Linked DNA regions of Homo sapiens: region 1 is linked to region 2. The links are contacts of gene promoters, found by promoter capture Hi-C in blood cells and fetal thymus (Javierre and others, 2016). All regions are on one chromosome and are shown on one strand. The core of a region is centred on a gene start or on the middle of the fragment in contact, and the rest is flanking DNA. Distances in the headings are between cores, read along the strand shown. Region 1 overlaps GPBP1 (GC-rich promoter binding protein 1). Region 2 holds the start of ANKRD55 (ankyrin repeat domain 55).

What was found. Contacts are between HindIII fragments. The CHiCAGO score rates a contact against its expected background, and 5 or more counts as called.
Region 1: a contact is called between a fragment that was not itself captured here and the fragment with the promoter of ANKRD55 in region 2, in 1 of 17 cell types (naive B cells). The highest score is 5.1, in naive B cells.

The regions. Positions count from the first base shown.
Region 1 is chr5:57,258,850-57,262,488 of GRCh38, forward strand. It overlaps GPBP1 (GC-rich promoter binding protein 1), which reads left to right. Exons shown (of 12, transcript NM_022913.4): 11 at 2,331-2,433. Among named protein-coding and RNA genes, the nearest start is that of GPBP1, 87 kb to the left of the region's middle. The HindIII fragment of the contact is 398 bases long and covers 1,897-2,294 here.
Region 2 is chr5:56,231,653-56,235,332 of GRCh38, forward strand. It overlaps ANKRD55 (ankyrin repeat domain 55), which reads right to left and starts at 1,678. Exons shown (of 12, transcript NM_024669.3): 1 at 1,589-1,678; 2 at 1,204-1,294. The coding sequence starts at 1,261. The HindIII fragment of the contact is 3,640 bases long and covers 968-3,680 here.

The sequences.
Region 1 (3,639 bases), core at 846-3,345, 1.0 Mb after region 2:
GCCTTCTGTTATATTCTCTTTCATAATAGTTGATAATTTTTTCCATCTGCATTATTGCTTAGTTACGATTCAGTTTTTAAAAGTAAAACAGATAAAAGTTTGGATCCAGCAAAAGAGCAGTTAGATTGTTTTGCTAGTCTAGATTTAATAGTCTCTGTATTAGGTGTCATTGAATGGTAAAAGTGAATGGAAATGCTATTCCAAAAGGAGGCCATCCAGATTAAAGAGTAAAGATAGTGCATTGGAAGAAGTCGTGGCTAAAAGGAATGAAAGAAGAAATGATTAATGCTGACTGTGACATTTTTGTTCAGAAGCAACAAGGTGCTGTGCAATACATACTAATTTGGGAGACAGAAAACCAAAATTCTATTTGTCTTTGCCATCAAGTAAGCAAGTTATTTTACTTATATGATCTTGATTGTTCATGTGTAAAATGTGGATATCATGTTATGTTTTATTCAAGGTCTCAGATATTCTGTGAGACTCTGAAAAAAGGTCTAAAAGTCTATAAGCAGCTATTGTGTAGCAGGTGCAAGTTAAAAGATGAGTAGGTGTAAATAAGAGGGGACTTAAACGTTTGTGGAACAATGTAATTAAATGATAAAAACTATTAACTCTGTTTTTCAACATAACTCCATCAAGTTCAAGACCCTTTTGTAAGCAATGATAGCAGTCATTTAGACCATCCCTGAAGAACTGAGGGCCCTGGCAGTTTAACCGTGTCAGTGCTGTCTTTTTTACATTAACTGAAGAAAAATGGGCCCCCTCTAAAATTTAAGATTAGGAAATGAAGTCAGAAGGAGCCAAATCAGGACTGAAAGGTGGATGCCTAATGATTTCCCATTGAAACTTTGCAAAGGTGCCCTTGTTTGATGAGAGGAATGAGCAGGAGTATTGTGGTTAAGGACTCTCTGGTGAAGCTTTCCCAGGCATTTTTCTGCTAAAGCTTTCCCAGGCATTTTTCTGCTAAAGCTTTAGCTTTCCTTCTCAAAACACTCTCATAATAAGCAGATGTTACTGTTCTTTATCCCTTCCAAACAACTGTTGCCATGACCTTTGCTCTTGACTGGTCCTCTTTTGCTTTGAGTGGATCCCTTCCACTTCTTGGTAGCTAGTGCTTTGATTGTGATTTGTCTTCTGGATCATACTGGTAAAGCCATGTGCAGTTCTTTGAAGAAATGCTTCAGAATCTTGATCCCACTTGTTTAAACTTTCCATTGAAAGCTCTATTTTTGTCTGCAGATGATGTGGGCACACATTGAGTGGAAATTATTCAACTTTAATTTTTCATTCAGAATCATGTAAGCTGAACCAAGTGAGATGTCTTGTCTGTGGTATTGGCTATTTCTGTTGTTAATCGTCAGTCCTCTTCAGTTAGGGCACTAACAAGATTAATTTTTTCCTTGTCAATTGATGGGGATGATCTGCTGCTGCTTCTGTGAGGGCTTCATCTTCAGAATCACCTCATCTTTTCTTAAAATGAGTTATCTATTTGAAATTTCTTGTTTCCTTGGGGTATTGTCCCCATAAACTTTTCGTAAAGCATCAGTGATTTCATTATTCTTCCACCCAAGTTTCACCATAAATTTGGTATTTGTTCTTGCTTCGATTTTAGCAGAATTCATGTTGATCTGATAGGGGCTTTTCGCAAACTGATGTCTTACCTTTGTGGTGCCTTAAACAAGATTCTGTTGAAACATGTTATCACAAGTTAGCACAAGTTTATTTTGGTGCAGAATTTTTTTCTTGAAATTCTTGCATAGTTTTTCCATGATACACATTTTTTATGAACTTTTTGAAGACTCCTTGTAGGAGTAACAGAAGTACTTAGGGGTTTCATTTTTTAAAAACAAACCCTTTCATATCAATACAAGATATGTGGCCATATAAGAAACAAGCTTGGAGGTTTCCTGATCAAATGAAGTAGCTATTGATGCAGTGTTCATGACTGCCCAAGTAGAAAACCTAATGAGTAGTCAGAAATATGGTGGTACTGAAGAAAAAGAGGAGTGATATTGCTGTTACTTTTAGTATAAGAATTTAGCAGATTTGCTTCACATCTGTTAAAAGTTTCCAGCCTGAAGAGCCTTTGACACCAAGGATTAAGCAGTCAAGGAGTTCATTCTAATTTTAATATCAGTTTATTAATCTTACCTGTTTATTCATTTTCAGAAAGATACTCAAAGCCTGAGCTCAAAAATCCTTTTGATGTGTCTTGGGGTCTTTGTATAATGGATCCTGGTGGATCATGTTTTCTTATACATAATGTAAATGATACTGTCCTACTCAGGGTAAGCTTTACATTAAACTTAATTTCCTCTCCTTTTCAGATTGTTAAAGGAAATGGGCTGGCAGGAAGACAGTGAAAATGATGAAACATGTGCTCCCTTAACTGAGGATGAAATGAGAGAATTCCAAGTTATTAGTGAACAGGTAAGAAAACCTGAATCATACAACTTCACTTTTAAACTGCCCTTATTTAGAACAATATAATTATATGTAAGCATGGAGTGGGGGAGATTTAGGAATTTATCACGATAGGTCAGAATTGCTTTTAAAAAAAAAAAGAGGGAGGACAGGCTTTTGCTATGGTGTCCAGCTGGCCTCTAGAACTCCTGGGTGCCAGGTGATCCTCCAACCTTAGCCTCTGGAGTAACTGGGACTACAGGCAGGAACCACTGCACCTGGTTGAATTGACTTTATAGAAGTCTGCAATAGTGACTTATTTAAACTATTGGGTGTGCAATAGTTAGGAATTAGTGTAAGTGATGTCTATGGATTAGTCATTTTCCAGACCTTTTTTGTTTTGTTTTTTGTTTTTGTTTTTGGCTTTTCTGGGGGAGGAGCAAGAGTGATAAGAAGTAGAGAGTGTTAGTAGCTTCCTAAGTAACTTCATCTTTTATCCTTTTCTTGCACAAGAGTATTTCATATTCTAAAACATCTTGCTTAATGTCTCCCTAGTTACCTTTCTGAAAGAGTATTAGGGAATTTTTGTTAGAGCATCAGGAAGTTGAGATGCTTTTTTTCAAATCGATTATTTGTTTATTTAAAGAGTTGGGGTCTCACTCTGTCATCTAGGCTGGAGTGCAGTGGCTGGTCATAGCTCACTGCATCCCCAAATTTCTGGGCTCAAGCAATACTCTTGCCTCAGCTTCCTGAGCAGCTGGGGCTACTGGCTTGTGCCACTACACTGGGCTTATTTTCTGTCTTTAAATTGTTTCTAATTTGGGCCAACTATCTTTTTTCTTCTTTGATGATGTTTTGACTCAATTCTTATTTATTACCAACCTTTTAGTTATGATTTCTCATTTTCAGAAATAGAGAACTGTATTTTTTCTAGTATCTTCATCTCCGGTTAAACGAGACAATTTTGTAACTTTATATACCTCATTCTACTTTACAAACTATGAACAAAGCAGATTGGGGGGTGTATTAATTTAGGTCAGAATAATAAAAATAACAGATACAGCTTAATGGTTTCTGATTATATTCTGGTAAGTCCCTGAAGGTATTTATTACAGTTGTCACTTGAGGCAATAAAAATGTGGGAAAGTTTAGTACCTTAATCAGTGTGACAATTATTACTCACATCTACTTTGTCTGGATCCAGAATTTTTTCAGAAATATCATTACTTGTGT
Region 2 (3,680 bases), core at 428-2,927:
GCACACACACACACACACACACACACACACACACACACACACACATACACATACACAAACACTATTCCAAATGAGCTAAGACCTGGAGAACACACTATACACATATATACATTAGCTAACTCAGGAATCTAAATATAAATTTATTTTTGGAGAAACCCCCTGGGCTAAAATAATTCACCCACAAAGCCAGATGTAGCTTGAGGGGTAATAAACATGCTATGGCCTAGAGCAGGAAAAGGGAAAAAAGAATGAAGCAGTACATTTTCTTAATGAGGCTTTTTCAAACCACCATTTCATGTTGTAGCCAAAACAGATAAAATCACCAAAGGAACTTAGGATCTTGAAGAATATTCAGAGACTGTAGAAAGTGGTTTAAATAATAGATATTTAAGAAAAGATTCTAAAAAATATTTATTATGTTTATAAAATGGAAATTTCATGTTTATACTAAAAAAAGATTTACTATTACACATAAGTATTACACGAAGATGTATATAAACACATTGCATATGCAAAATGTATACACATAGACCACATGGCCAAATATGTGATATTATAAGGATAAGTTGATCTCACAGCAACATTTTGATGTGGAAAATTACCTCCACTCCAGAAATTATAAGTAAGGAAGATATACCCTGGCATTGCAAATAATAGCATAGGGATATGTCATTACACAACCTTGGATGAGATAACATATCAACCCGACATAAATACAGGCAACATCTATTCCTGAAAGGAATAAAAAAATGCTTACGAAGATACAGCAATGAGATACTGGGCTAATCGAATGACAAAAAAAATGTGATGTGTTCTTACATTGCTTACCCTAATTTTTAAAAAAGATTTGGAAAAAACAGAATAAAGATGACACTATCTGAAATAGTTGGTGTGCTTGAAATCCAGTTTTTAAAATTTGAAGGTAGGAATACTTCAACAAGATCATAAGCTTATACAACAGATCATAAGCTTATTTTTCTGTTTCAGATGCTTATCAAACTAGAAGTGAACATTTTGAACAGGTTTGTTTTCTAGGTGAAATCCTCTTTCCACATCCTACATAGCAAATACTCATGCACACCCACGCACATGAACACACACACACACACACACACACTTCTCTTTCTCTCCTTACAACTGTAAATCCATACCATGAGACTAAGGATGCTAACAACCAAAGAATGTGTTAAAGCAGCATTTTACCTCTTTGCTGATCAAACACAGAAGGGGTGCTGAAATCCATGGTAGCCTGTCTCATCATTTACCATCAGAATGGCAAAAAGCATCCAGGTCTCTAGAGAGGAGAAAACACCATCTCAAACCTTACTGTCAACATGACAGTCAGAGGCAGCATCGTTTGCCAAGACCTCTGTTTCAGGATTAAATGTGCATCAGAGCTGCAGGTTGTTGTCAAGGCAAGGTGATGAAAATAGGTAAATGCTATTCCTGTAAATACCTGCTAGGAAAAGAGTTACTCTATGGCCTCATTCATCAGCTGTACATGGGCATAATACACCCTCCACCCCCAAATCAATAAACACAATTACTCAAACTCCAAAAAGATAGTAAAATTGTATGGGCCACCTGCCTTGGATCTGGGCTGGAAAAACACAGCAGATCACGGAGCTTCAGCAGCTGGAATGTCGCTTTACACCAACAGAAATCTGAATGGGTGAGTGAGGATTCACAGGGCCAGACAGAGCATGTGCAAAGCTGCCAATGCAGTTCGCATTCGGCTGTGCTTTTGGCGGAGTGAGAACTGCATTTGGGTCATGTGAGCAGAGAGTGCCATCTCAATGGAATAGGATGTAAATATTGTAGCAGGAGGCTGCTGGCCATGTGCTGTGTGGAGTAATTATCCATGTTGGCAGTCTTCTTCACTCCCCTTTCAGCTCCGTTCTCCAATTGACAGGGAGGATGGGGAAAGGCGTCATTTGAAAGGTGACATTTCAAGGCTCGAGTGTCTGTGGTGATAAAATTAAAACAGTCTGCTGTCACAAGGGTGTTTATTGTAGCATTACATGTAGTAAAACCTGAAAAATCACCCGAATGTACCTCATTCAGGGAGCAGCTAAGTAAATGGTAGTAAATTCGTACTCTAGATTTAAAAATCTGACATAAATAAATCTGTGTATTTATCTGGTGACATGTCACTAATCTATTGTTAAATGAAATAAACAAGTTATATATTTCATTTGTTCGTGTTTTAATAAAACCGGAAACCACTCACTGTATACATTATTTTTATATATTCAGACGAACACTGAAAAAGATGTAGAAAGATACGTACTAAACTGCTAATATTGGTTCCCTCAGGCCACTGTGATTAGAGTAGGAGATTTCTAACTTGTTCTGTATCAATCTCTGTATTTTTGGCTTGTTAATAACCAGTATCTATTATCTTGTATTTGTAATAAAAATATGATATACTAAATTCAAACAAAGTTCTATATTCTAGGCACAACCAGATTTTTGGATAAGTCAAATAGCCATATAGTAGATGCTTGTTGAATCTAATAATAAACACCAGCTTCCTTTGCCCTTGGATAGGATGATTCTGAGGCATGGTGTTTTACTCCGTTTGCCATTTCCCTTTCAGGATTAAACTCCTTCAGGGTTAAACTCCACTGCCACCTGTGAGAATAGGTCTAATAACGTTCTTTTTATGGGCTGCTGTTCCCTCCCTGTATTACTTTCCCACGTTCCTACTGATATTTCCTGCACTTCTCAATAAGTTACTTGCATTGGAATCATTGTCTCAGGGTCTGCTTTTACGGAAACCCAAATTAAAATATTTCTCCACAAGAGGGTACATTTCATAAGGGCAGGGTCTTTGTCTACTCTTTCTTTGTCTGCTTTGTCCACTCCATGTCCTTACAGCCTAGCACAGAGAGGGGCACAAAGGAGGTGCTCAGTACATTTCAGTGCATGAGTGAAACTTCACTGAAGAACTTTCCTTGCTCAAGCTGACAACCTGCTCACTGACATTGTAACATTGGAACCCAATTAACCATCCTTCATGGGGTAAGAACTTTCTGACAAGAACTTCTGTAGTCCTTGAAATTTTCTAGTCTAAACAAGAAACCATGTACTTGAGGATTGGTTCTAGGGTTTCTGGAATTGGCTCTCAAATCTGATTAAATTTAAGGATTCTAATAGCTTTATTTCTAGGAGTAAAGAGAGCATTGATAGTCCATGGTGTGAAGTGGTAATAGAGATATGCAAAAAGCTGCACTGAATATTCCTAATTAATCACTGGACACAACAGGCAAGGAGTTGGGTGACTGTGTAGATGATACCCTCAAACATTTTTGGAAACTTAATGAATATGGCTGGTTGCTCCTAATGTCACTGGACAAAGTGATGAAAGAAAAGGATTAGCTCACGGATTCTAATTCCCAGCTCAGGTGCCATATAGATGACCTGGAGGTGTGTATGTGTACCCTGAAGGAGAGTCTTACCTCCTGTAGCCATGAGGCTGAGGATGCTGCAATCAAATGCAGGCTCTCATGCTGCAGCTGCCTGAATTACAATGCAAATTGAACTCCTGAATTACAGCGCAAGTCAAACTCCCAGCTTCACAGGATGTCTGCTGTTAAAGTGAGGACATTGATTGGGAAAGTAGAGGATACTGTAAATTGGATAGAGACATGTGAGAAGACCCTGATGAAGCTGGGGGA